Regions from separate parts of the Homo sapiens genome. Here region 1 is linked to region 2. The links are contacts of gene promoters, found by promoter capture Hi-C in human tissues and cell types (Jung and others, 2019). All regions are on one chromosome and are shown on one strand. The core of a region is centred on a gene start or on the middle of the fragment in contact, and the rest is flanking DNA. Distances in the headings are between cores, read along the strand shown.

Region 1 (6,237 bases), core at 2,657-5,156, 490 kb before region 2:
CAGCAAGGAGTCATCTGTGGAAGTGCAAGACTCTGGCAGGGCCGGGTCCCTCTTTGTCCTGGCCTCACTACCCTGCCCCACTCGTCACATGTGTGTGTGGAAGCAGCTTTTTCTTCAGTCTGGAGAGGCCTTCTGGTGACCTCGTGCTGGGAGGAAGGATGGGGCACTCCTCACTCTGCTTTCTTTCTCCTGGGTCTCCCAGCAGGACCTTAGACCAAACAGATGCCACAGGACAGTGGGGACTAAGTGACAAGCAGCAACATCCACTCCCTGCAGCCAGGGGGCCATAGTGAGCCAGGGAAAGGCTGCCACGTGTGGAGTTTTCACGGCACCAGCGAAACCAGCTCACCTTCTCCAGGGTCTGCACGAACTGCTCCACAGGGATGGAACCGCTCAACAAAGGCTTCAGGACTTTGCAGTCTGGTACGTCATCGCTCACCCGCTTTCTCTTCTTCCCGCTCGTGGGCTGGGCGGGCCGAGGAGGGGGCTAGAGCAGAAGGAAAGAGTGGCTTTCATGAGCTTCCTCTGAGCAGCAGGGGCCACCGCAGGCCACACTGAGAGCCTGAGACTATCCTGTCCTCACAGGCCACAGAGCCCCGGCCCGGTTTCCTCAGCCGGCACTCGGTTCAGGTTCCCTGGCTGCCGGGAGCCCCAGATCCACGCGCTCTAATGCTCAACTGTCCAGCCTACCAACACCTTATTCGCTAAGATCTCTGCCTTCTATCAAGATCCATTTTTAAATTTTCAGGTGGTTCACTTCAGTATCTGCTGAGTAAATTCTCCAGAATACACTGTGTCGTGCTGCAGGTACATCATGACCCCGTGGCTGGGCACACTGGCTGTGGGGTCAGACCAAAGGGGGAAACCCCACCTTTGCCACCATCTGGCCAAGGTTAGAGAAGCTGCCTACGAAATGATGACAGCAGTGAATTCTGACGGCTCAGTAAGACAAGGCGGGTCAAGGACCCAGCACAGGGTCTAATAGACTTTAAGTGGTAGCTAGGAGCAACTCTACATGTGGCATAAAGGTGACACAGTCCAGATCTGAAAGGAATTCTTAAGACACAGTGCCTGCCCTGGAGCTGAAGTGCCACCCACCTGTGTGTGGGTCATTGGTAGGACCAGGCTCTCAGGTAGCCACAGCCTCACGCAGGTGCCCTCCGGTTCCAGCCCCCAAGGGCAGGGCTGCACCTGCCACCCTGCACGTCTCCCCACAGCCCTGCCTCGCGTGGCAGCGCTCCCCAACAGAATGTGCCTGTGGCAGCCCTTGGGATGACGTGCGGCCTCATCTCTGGGCACAGCAGCCTCTCTGAGGCACATGGCCAGGGAAATAATTCTTCAACAAGAATTCACATGAAGCGCTATTTCAAATATAATCTGTTAGGTGGTCTGGTTTCTTGCTGGGGAGAGGGTCCCCTGCACTCCCACCCAGCACCCCCTACCTGAAGCAAGTGCTTGTTATCTTTGGTGTGCAGCACGGCCGAGACAGTTGCCAAGGAGATGCCAGGCTTGATCTCCATGGGCACCAGTGAATCTGCGAGCTGAAAGCAAAGGGCGCAGTTCAGGCTGGGGGCCTTTAATGATGACCATTACTCTTCCTTTAATCTGTATTTACATCACTGCAGTCTAAAAAGATGAAATAACTTTAAAGGTAAACAATTTTTTTTTTTTTGAGATGGAGTCTTGCTCTGTCGCCCAGGTGACACACCAAGTGCAGCCTTTCATTCATTCTGGCCTTTACTTCACCCTCATCCCCTCTCCAGGTGACCAGTGGCAGGAAGGACGGGGACAGCAGCATGGCGGTTGAGGGAGCTCTCTCTTCCTGAAAGTCTGACTTCTCCTGATGGTGGGAGCCACGGCTTTACCTGGGGGGTGGTATCTTTCCGACCACCTGCACCTGATGGGTGCCCTGCCGTGCAGCCTGACCTTATTAGGTGCTCTGTTGCTGGGTTTAGCTGCATGGTTTTTAAGACATGTAGACCCCTACCTAGCCAAGCCACCTTTATTTAAAAACAAAAACATGCAAGAGGCCATTATGTAAACATGAAGATCAATACCAAACGGGCAGAGGAAGCAGCTTAGGATACTTAAGCAGATTGGCAAGTGGTACGTGAGGCCTGTTTCATGAAATAAGAAAACGGCCTATGGCGAGCGTGAAGCGGCCCTTGCCGAGGAGCAGGGTGTGCGCCAGATCCCGTTCTTCACCTGAGGCCTCCTCCACACAGGCCCCTCCTCCCTGCACAAGGCTGGGGTGGGAGCTTTGGGGATGGCGTTCTGCGCTCTCCCTGGGCAGCCATGCACTATTTCCAAGACGACTCTGAAGGAGTCTTTTTTTTTTTGAGATGGGGCCTCACTCTGCTGCCCAGGCTGGAGTGTGGTGGTGTGATCATAGCTCATTGCAACCTCAACCTCCTGGGCTCAAGTGATGTTCCCTCCTCAGCCTCCCCAGTAGCTGGGACTACAGGCATGAACCACCACGCCTGGCTAATTTATTATTTTTTTGTAGATACGGGGGTCTTGCTGTGTTGCCCAGGCTGGTCTTGAACTCCTGGCATCAAGTGATCCTCCTGCCTTGGCCTCCCAAGGGCTGGGATTACAGGCCTGAGCCAATGTGCCTGGCCATAATGTCCATTTTAAAGGCAATTACTGTAGCAAGTTGGATTGAGACAGTTACCTCCATTAATGATCAAAGACGTACAGTTTGGCTGGGTGCGGTGGCTCACGCCTGTAATTCCAGCACTTTGGGAGGCCACGGTGGGCAGACTGGAGTTTGAGACCAGCCTGGCCAATATGGTGAAACCCCATCTCTACCAAAAATACAAAAATTAGCTAGGATTGGTGGCATGTGCCTATAATCCCAGCTACTCGAGAGCCTAGGGAGGAGAACTGCATGCACCCGGGAGGCAGAGGTTGCAGTGAGCCAAGACTGTGCCACTACACTCCAGCCTGGGCAACACGGCAAGACTCCGTCTCAAAAAAAGACATAGGGCCGGGCACGGTGGTTCACGCCTGTAATCCCAGGACTTGGGAGGCCGAGGTGGGTAGATCACAAGGTCAGGAGATCAAGACCATCCTGGCTAACACAGTGAAACCCTGTCTCTACTAAAAATACAATAAATTATCCAGGTGTGGTGGCAGGTGCCTGTAGTCCCAGATACTCGGGAGGCTGAGGCAGGAGAATGGCGTGAACTCAGGAGGTGGAGCTTGCAGTGAGCAGAGATCTCACCACTGCACTTCAGCCTGGGCAACACAGCGAGACTCCGTCTCAAAAAAAGAAAAAAAAAGACATACAATTTAAAATTAGATAACAGTGTATACTTATATAACTGGAAAAGACTTGAATAAAATTGGAAAATAACTAAAAAAGGACAACATTCAATATTAGCAAGGAGGCAGAAGTAAGAGCTGTCTCCAGCTCTGCTGTGGGAGTATAAACTGTCACACTCATTCTAGAGGACAAGCTGGCAATATATAGCCTCGAGCCAGAAAGGGATGTTCATAATCTTTGACCCAGAAATTCTAACTTCAGAAAATTTTCTTATGGAAATAAACATATATGGACAAAGATTTATGTAAAAGGATGCTCCTAAAAGTGTTATTTATAACACAGAAAAACCAGAAATGAAAATCTGTGAAAAAAGGGGCCAGGCGCAGTGGCTCACGCCTGTAATCCCAGCACTCTGGGAGGCCAAGGCGGGTGGATCACAAGGTCAGGAGATTGAGACCATCCTGGCTAACACGATGAAACCCCGTCTCTACTAAAAATACAAAAAAATTAGCTGGGCATGGTGGCGGGTGCCTGTGGTCCCAGCTACTAGGGAGGCTGAGGCAGGAGAATGGCATGAAGCTGGGAGGCGGAGCTTGCAGTGAGCCAAGATCGCGCCAATGCACTCCAGCTTGGGTGACAGAGCGAGACTCCGTCTCAAAAAAAAAAAAAAAAAATCTATGAAAAAAGGAACTGTTAAATTATGACAGACCATTATGCAACCATTAAAGCTGAAGCTTTTGAAATATCTTTTTTTTTTTTCTTGAGACGGAGTCTCGCTATGTTGCCCAAGCTGGAGTGCAGTGGCGCGATTTTGGCTCACTGCAACCTCAGCCTCCCGAGTAGCTGCGATTACAGGCGCCTGCCACCACGCCTGTGGCTAATTTTTGTTTTTTTATTAGAGACAAGGTTTCATCATGTTGGCCAGGCTGGTCTTGAACTCGTGACCTTAAGTGATTCACCCCCGCCTCAGCCTCCTGAAGTGCTGGGGTTTACAGGCATGAGCCACCATGCCCAGCTGAAATATATATTTTTTGAGACAGAGTCTCGCTCTGTCATCCACGTAGGAGTGCGGTGGCATGATCTTGGCTTACTGCAACCTCTGCCTCCCGGTTCAAGCAATTCTCTGCCACAGCCTCCAAGTAGCTGGGATTACAGGTGCGTGACACCACGCCCAGCTAATTTTTTTTAGTGGAGATGGGGTTTCACCACCTTGGCCAGGCTAGTCTTGAACTCCTGACCTCATTGTCCACCCGCCTCGGCCTCCCACAGTGCTAGGATTACAGGAGTGAGCTACCATGCCTGGCTGAAATATCTTAAATGATATAATGTACTTACTGATAGGTGAAAAAGACGACAGTGTATGAGGTGTGATTCCAGTAGGCACACACACAGTGAACAGACAAGGCAAATACATCAAAATCTTAACATTTATCCCTGGCACTGGGACTGATTTTTGCTTTTGTCTTTATCCCTTAGTTATGTTAACATATAATAGGTTTGTATTATTAAGTGAATATTTTTAAAATGTCTTAGTTTTAATTTCTCATATAGCAAACATCAATAGACATAACCCACATAAACAAAACCTCTTTGGAGTTCTATTTGTAAGGATGTCTGAGACCAAAAGGTTTAAGGAATGCTGGCTTAGAGAGTTGAAATCTAAACCAAGGCCGTCAATCCCAGCCCCTGTAAAATACCAGACAAAAACAATCCAGAGAAAGTGAAAAAATCATAACAAAATGATAAAAACATATTAAACATTAAACAACCATAAAGATGGCACCTGGTGGTCCCTAGCAGCCTCTCCAGGCTCATGGAAATGAGTCACATTCAGGAGCCAAGACCTCCAACCCAAGGTCTGGAGGCCATTTCTGAACCTCAGACTCCAAAAGAAGTTTGGGCACACTGGTTTTAACAATAAGTTTTTATATTTCTTTTTCCTGTCTGTTGAAAACACATTCAAGTTGCCTCAAGAGGTGAAAGGAAGCCAGAGGTAGCCTCCAACCATCCTCAACGCTGTCTTTCAGGAGAGGCCGCGTCCCTCTCTGTCTCCCTCTCAGAGGAGTGGCCCAAGCGCAGCATGCCACAGCTGTTCAACATGGACAGCATGCTTTGGCTCTTTCCCTGCTAAAACTGAAGCTAAGAGTTCACAGACCTATAAAATACTTAGACTTTGATAGACCAAAACCTGCAAGTATGCTCAAGAGGATATAAATAACCAAGTTTACAATCCTTATTTTTTGGTTCCTGTTATCTCCCCCATCTACCTCTGAATTCAGCAAACTCTTGACACTCACTCATAACTGAGGTCCAGGAAGGAAGAGAAAAGTCACCATCCTATGGTATTTAGGGACAGAGCGGGTGTCAGCATCTCCACTTCCCAGGGCTCTGACCCATGATGTGGCCCAGGGCTCACGCTGCTGAATGCTAGGTAAGGAGCAGTCCTGACTAACAGCTGTTATTTTATTAGTTGAAAAACAAGAAGGCCCTGAAAATCCCCCCTCTTCCCGGTTACTTGGTTAAGGGTCCATGTTCTTTGTTCATTCATACTTGGAGTCTCACTCTGTTGCCCAGGCTGGAGTGCAGTGGTGTGATCTCGGCTCACTGCAACCTCCACCTCCTGGTTCAAGCGATTCTCAGGCTTCAGCCTCACGAGTAGCTGGGATTACAGATGCGTGCCACCACACCTGGCTACTTTTTTTGTATTTTTAGTAGAGATGGGGTTTTGCCATATTGGCTGGGCTGGGTTGGCCAGGCTGGTCTCGAACTCCTGACCTCAAGTGATCCGCCCACCTTGGCCGCCCAAAGTGCTGGGATTATAGGCGTGAGCTACTGCGCGCAGCCTGGTTCATTTATACTTGACATAAATCCAAAAGAAGGCCACCCCTGCACGATCTCCAAGAGCCTCTGTGGAAAGCTCTAGTTTAACCCTAGGAAGGAGAACAGCTCACCTCTGGCATGATCTCGAT
Region 2 (6,546 bases), core at 1,633-4,132:
CTCACTTCGAGGATAACTGTTAAATAATAAATCAGCTAACCACCTTAAAACTCCAAACACCTAAGCACAACCACTGAATCACACAAGAACTTAATACACCAGAGTTTTCTGGAAATTTTCAGATTTTCCTCAAAAGATAGCTAATGTGATTCCAAATATCAGAGTCTACACAGTAAAACTACATCATCACAGTAACCCATTCTCATCCCCGTCCTCTTTTATAGATAGCGATTTATAAGGTTGCTTCCGGCACCTATATGATAGAAACTATTAGGACTCAAGTTTTACTCTTTGTCATAATTATACAGTATTACATAATACTAATAACTGTTCAAAGTAATATTCTTTTCAAAATTACTGGAAAGGTTCCTACAGATCATACAAGGAAGAAAAAAAAGGAAATTACTGGAAAGAAATATGGTTTTGTTTTAGTCTTTTTTTTTTTTGAGACAGAGTTTCACTCTTGTCGCCCAGGGTGGAGCACAGTGGCACGATCTTGGCTCACTGCAACCTCCGCCTCCTGGGTTCAGGCTATTCTCCCGCCTCAGCCTCCTTAGTAGCTGGGATTACAGGCGTCCACCACCACGCCCGGCTAATTTTTTGTATTTTTAGTAGAGACAGGGTTTTGCCATGTTAGGCAGGCTGGTCTCGAACTCCTGACCTCAGGTGATCCACCCGCCTCGGCCTCCCAAAGTGCTGGGATTATAAGCGTAAGCCACCGTGCCTGGCCTGTTTTAGTCTTTTTATACAAACTTTGGACACCAATTTTTAAAAATCACTGGATTTACAATCCCACCACACTGTATTCCATAATAACCTTTATATTTATGTGAACAATTACTTCATAACAAAAATGGAAAAGAACAAATTTATGTGTGGTAATCACTGAAAAAAGAAGTCCACATGCACGTCAGGAAATATAAGGCTAAGAATGGGCACTAAGTGAACACAGGAGGTACTTTACACCAAATAATGCACTTCTCTATATAGGCTAATGGAATCTATGGGTAAACCTCAATTTCAAAATGATTGTTGAACCCAAGGATCAGCTCACATCCGTTCCACAGCTAAAACTATTATTCTTTGCCTTCCTCTAAACTCTGATGTTTATTACAACCTTATCAATGGCAATTTATAAGAGAAAAGCATAAGAATTTCCCTCAAAAAGTGAAACCAATGGGGAAAGGGAGAGGGAAAGGGCTCTAAATATCTGAGATGTCTTTTGTGGTGGTTGGTTAGCGGCCTCTTTTTAGCACTGACATTTCCAAGTTTTTTGTGAAAAGGAAATTTTAAGAATGTGCTGAAACCATCCTTTCAGAATCAATTCCCAGATAAGTTATGTTTCATTTGGCTTCTTTCTTTAAATTATTGTGATGGTAAACTGGAAGTAAACTGAAATACAGATACCTGAATATTTAAAAACTGATGCTTCTGAAAATTTTCAGAATTGTATCGACGTTTATTGTGTGTTGTCAGAGCACGAGATTAGTGAAGCAAAGCAGGACTCAATCTTGCACTAGTTGAGAACTTAAAGTAATTAAGTTCTTAGGGAAAAAAACTCACCTGACAGCTTTAATCGGACCTAGCAGGAACAGGACAAAACAATTCCCATAGATGAGATAACTCCAAGCGAGAAACCAATTTCCCCGAGAAGGACAAACCAACAAAGCTTATGTCAACTGGTTGATCTGTATGTCTCAATATATACAAAAGAAAGCAAAGAAGAGGAAAACAACCTATAATTTCTACATAAAAATTAAACAACACTTGATTTTGCTAAGAAGCTACAACTTTGTCTCTGGTACTTAAATGATTCTAATTAGTTCAAAGTCTCATCAATGGCAAAGTCATCTCCTGAGACAGTAATAGTGACCCCCAATGACAGGACCTTGTATATAAAGCGTTTTCAAACACATTATCTTATTTAAAGCAACTCACCCAGTCATGCTGCTTTGACTATCAAAGCCAAGACCCAGCCCACCTCCTCCCCTGACTTTTGGGGTTCTCTCCACTCCCCGGGTCTACAGATTATTTAAATGTACTCGGTTTATCTGCCTTCTCTACACTCCCTGCAGAGTTAAGAGAATGTCAGAAAGATACAATTCCACAAGAATCTTGGCACTTTAGCTATTTATTGAGAGATGATGAATGAGACTTCAGGCAAAACCAAAACTTTCTCAACTGTCCAAAAACAACGAAAAGGGCATCTCCTCCACCTGACCCCAATCTCAGGACGCCCAGGTGGAAGGAACTCGCCGCGGGGCACCCGCCTGGCCCCCTGCCCTTCTTCCCGCCGCGGGCCAAGGCGGTGCAGGCTTGGGCGACCCGGGCGAGACGCGGGGTCCCGGGGGGTCCCGGGCGGTCCCGAGGCGGGCTGCAGGGGCTGGCGACCCGCGCGCGGGGGCGACGATGACAGCTGGCGGGGAAGGAGCGAGGCTGAGGGGCCAGGACGAGGCTGGGCGCGAGGGCCGAGGGCGCCCTCGGGAACCTCCGGGGGAGACGAGAGGGCAAAAGGGCGCAGGGGCGGGGCGGGCGCAGGCGGAAGGGGCAGCGGGGCCGGCACGAGGGGCCCGACGGCGCCAGGGACGGGGCTGGCCAGGGGGGAAGGGAGGGGAGAAGAGGGAGCCGGGCGTCTCAGCGCGGGAGCGGGTTTCAGGGTCCCCGGGCCCCTCCTCGCGCCCCGCCGCTGACTATAGGGGCGGGGCCGCCGGACCCCCCACGGCGGCCGAGGGAAGGGCGCGCCAGGCACCTGCCGCCTCCGCCCCGGCGGCCCAGGAGGGCTCGGCTCTCACCTCGCCGGTTCATGGGTCGTATCCGCACCGCCACTTTCACTTTGGAGTCCCCCATCCTGCAGCCGCCGAGGAACTCGTTCGGCTTCCGTCTGCCGCGGCCACCGGCGACTCTTCGGGGTTGACCCGGCGGGAGGGGGCCGGGGGCGGAGCCGGGGGTGGGGACCGGGCTGGGGGCGGGGCCGGCGCGAGCTCCGGGCGCTCCCCGCTGTATGGCGGGACTTGTAGTTCCCCAGGGTCGTCGTGGGCGGGGCCGCAGCGAAGGCGGGGGCGGGAATGCTCGGGCGCGAGTCGTTTGCTACAACTTACCTACAGCAATGACGGCTTTTGTAAATTACACACCATTCTTGCTCTCGCAGCCAGTATTGAGAAGTAAGCCTTCAAGAGCTGATACCTCTTCTGAAAAACAATTGAATAGATGGCGTCAGGGACCCCGCTACCTCTTCCTGCTCATTTCCTGCCAATCTTAGTGTTTGATCCCTGGCTCAAGTTATTTCCTCTGCCTGGATTGACGTCCGGCCTTGTTTGCTGAGCTCGTCCTTCACGACAAGTTGCAAATCACGTTTTCTGGGAGTGTCCATAGGTCCACGGGTTAACATTGTCCTGTGAGTCCCCCTCCTTTGAGACAGGACCTTGGGCTCTGAAAACCATCTGAGTTCAAAGCCCACCTCAGCGCTTCCCACTGTGTGACCAGGGGCAAGTTATTTGACCGCTCTGGGCTTGTCTTTAATATGAAAAGTGGATATGATACTAATACCTAGTAAAATAGGTACATTTTTAAATAAGATTAACATATGTGTAACCTAGCCTTTAGTAGAGACCCATAAACATTAATTGCATGAATTAATGAATGAGGCCACACTAAAATTAGCTTTTTATTAGCCCTGGCAGACATTCTAACAGGTGGCCTGGGTGCCAGAGCCAGCACGCAAACATGTTCTGTTTGGCCCAACAGTGTTGGCCAACACATAAAAATCAGATTTGTGGCCAGGTGCAGGGGCTCACACCTGGAATCCCAGCATTTTAGGATGCTGAGGCAGGAGGATTGCTTGAGGCCAGGAGTTTGAGACCAGCTTGGGTAACAGAGTGTGAAATCAGATTTGTGCATGCAGTACTGGGCCTACATTACATATTGGACAGAGTGGATTGGAACTAAATAGCAGCAGCCACCTTTATCAGAGACCCGTCTCTCCACTTCACCACGGCCCCCCTCCAGGTGGCTTTACCACACATGCGCCTGGACCTTGTGGGTTTGTGACCCCTGCTTAGATGTGTTTAAATGATAGTAATAGAACTCAGAACCATTTTACAGATGAGTAAATACAGAAAGCTGGTAAGACTTGCCCTTTTACCAACCATCCTGTTATTGAGTATCTTCAATACAAGCAATGTTGTCAAAAAGTATAAAAATACTTTTTTTTTTTTGAGATGGATCTAGCTCTGTCACCCAGGCTGGAGTACAGTGGCATGATCTCGGCTCACTGCAACCTCCACCTCCTGGCTTCAAGCGACTCTCATGCCTCAACCTCGACAGTAGCTGGGATTACAGGCATGTGCCACCAATCCTGGCTAATTTTCATATTTTTAGTAGAGACGTAGTTTTGCCATGTTGACCAGGCTGGTCTCGAACTCCTGACCTCAGGTGATCCACCCACCTCAGTCTCCCAAAGTGCTGGGATTACAGGCATAAGCCACTGTGTCCGGTCTAAAAATACCTTTAAAAGAAAGGAAATTCTGAAACATGCTGCAACATGGATGATGGGCCTTGAAAACATTATGCTAGGTGAAATAAGCCAGACACAAAAGAACAACCACTGCATGGTTCTACATATATGAGATACACATGGTAGTCAAATTCATGGAGATAGAAAGTAGACTGGAGGTTACTAAGGGCTAGGAGAAGGGGGTATGAGGAGTTAGTATTCAATGGGTGCAGAGATTCGGCTTGGGAAGATTTCAGCTGCGGAAATGAATGGTGGTGATGGTTGCACAACAATGTAAATGTACTTAACGCCACCTAACCACTTAAGAGTGGTTAAGGCAGTAAGGTTTTTTGGGTTTTTTTAGAGACAGGATCTCGCTCTGTTTGCCCAGACTGGAGTGCAGTGGTGTGATCATAGCTCACTGCAGCCTCAAACTCCTGGGCTCAAGCGATTTTCCTGCTTCAGCCTCTCACCTAGATGGAATTACAGGTACGCACCACGACACCTAGCTAATTTTTATATTTCATTTTTTGGTAGAGATGGAGTCTCGCTATGTTGTCCAGGCTGGTCTTGAACTCTTGGCCTCAAGTAATCCTCCTCACTTCAGCCTCCCAAAGCACTAGGATTACAGGTGTGAGCCATTACACCCAGCCAAGATGGTAAGCTTTTTGTTGTTGTTTGTTTGTTTGTTTGAGATGGAGTCTTGCTCTGTCGCCCAGGCTGGAATGCAGTGAGTGACATGATCTCTGCTCACTGCAGTCTCTGCCTCCTGGGTTCAAGTGATTCTCCTGCCTCAGCCTCCAGAGTGACTGGGATTACAGGTGTGCACCATCACACACAGCTAATTTTTATATTTTTAATAGAGATGGGGATTCACCATGTTGGCCAGGCTGGTCTCAAACTCTTGACCTCAAGTGATCCACCCACCTCAGCCCCCCCAAAATGCTGGGATTACAGGTGTGAGCCACTGTGCCTGGCCAATAGTAAGTTTTATGTTACGTGTTTTTTATCAAAATTTCAAAAAAGGTTAAAAATAGAAAATGCTACCCCAGAAGGCCCTCTTTTTTAAAAAAGGAAATTTCTTTCTTAGGGGCACTGCCTCTGCACTTCAGGAGGTCTCATCTAGACCAGCAGTGGGTTTAGTGCAGCAGGTCCTTTGATTTTCACAGCCCAATAAAGTAAACAACATCAGGATAACCAAATTAGGATTGCCAATCTCAGTGTTTGACACTATGACAGCTTCTTAATTTTAGCAAGTATATATTTTTTTGAGACAGGGTCTCATTCTGTGCCCAGGCTGGAGTGCAGTGGCACCATCTTAGCTCACTGCAGCCTCAACCTCCCAGGCTCAAGCGATCCTCCCACCTTAGCCTCCCAAGTAGCTGGGACTACAAGCATGCACCACCATGCCCAGCTGATTTTTAAATTTTTTGTAGAAACAGTGTCTCGCTATGTTACCCACTCTGGTCTTGAACCCATGACCTCAAGTGATCCTCCCACCTCAGCCTCCCAAAGTGTTGGAATTACAGGTGTGAGCCATTGTGCTAGGTCACCGAGTAAATTATTTGAAAAAGAATGCACACAAAAATTACTATCTACCATCACTATCTTTTTTTTTTTTTAAAAAAGATCATAAAGGGTATGATTTTATATTGAAATTGTTTTGCCCTACTGTTCTTTTGCTCTTATTTAGTGTTGAAGTCACCTTTGCCATGGCCCCAGACTGGTTACCACAGGTTGGTACTCTTGTCTTAAACACACATCCTAATTACCACCTCCCTACATTCAGGTTATAAAAAATAAGGATTTGGAATGTCCCAAGATTCCATACGTCACTTTATATCTCTTTTATAACCAGGTAAATTTAATTTTTAAATGGCACGTCCTGGTGCTAGCTTGAATCTGGCTTTTTAAACAGAGTCAAAGCAGGCAGAAAAAGAGAACAAGAGAACATTTCTATGGAAATATTGTGTTTAAACTTAAGCTGAAACTGAAAAGAGAGGAAAGCCCCTAAGGACCTCAAGGAAGGGAAGAATAGAATAGAGAAGAAGTGA

The links. The method cuts DNA at HindIII sites, captures the fragments that hold promoters and counts their contacts. A contact is called where the count stands out against the background at its distance.
Region 1: a contact is called between a fragment that was not itself captured here and the fragment with the promoter of KIF13B in region 2, in 2 of the 25 tissues and cell types used here (aorta and spleen).

Annotation. Positions count from the first base shown.
Region 1 is chr8:28,769,540-28,775,776 of GRCh38, forward strand. INTS9 (integrator complex subunit 9) reads right to left here. Exons shown (of 17, transcript NM_018250.4): 14 at 6,220-6,237; 15 at 1,443-1,541; 16 at 350-487. Among named protein-coding and RNA genes, the nearest start is that of EXTL3, 71 kb to the left of the region's middle. The HindIII fragment of the contact is 4,801 bases long and covers 1,507-6,237 here.
Region 2 is chr8:29,260,188-29,266,733 of GRCh38, forward strand. It overlaps KIF13B (kinesin family member 13B), which reads right to left and starts at 2,883. Exons shown (of 40, transcript NM_015254.4): 1 at 2,793-2,883. The coding sequence starts at 2,847. RefSeq lists a silencer at 2,261-3,090. The HindIII fragment of the contact is 11,996 bases long and covers 97-6,546 here.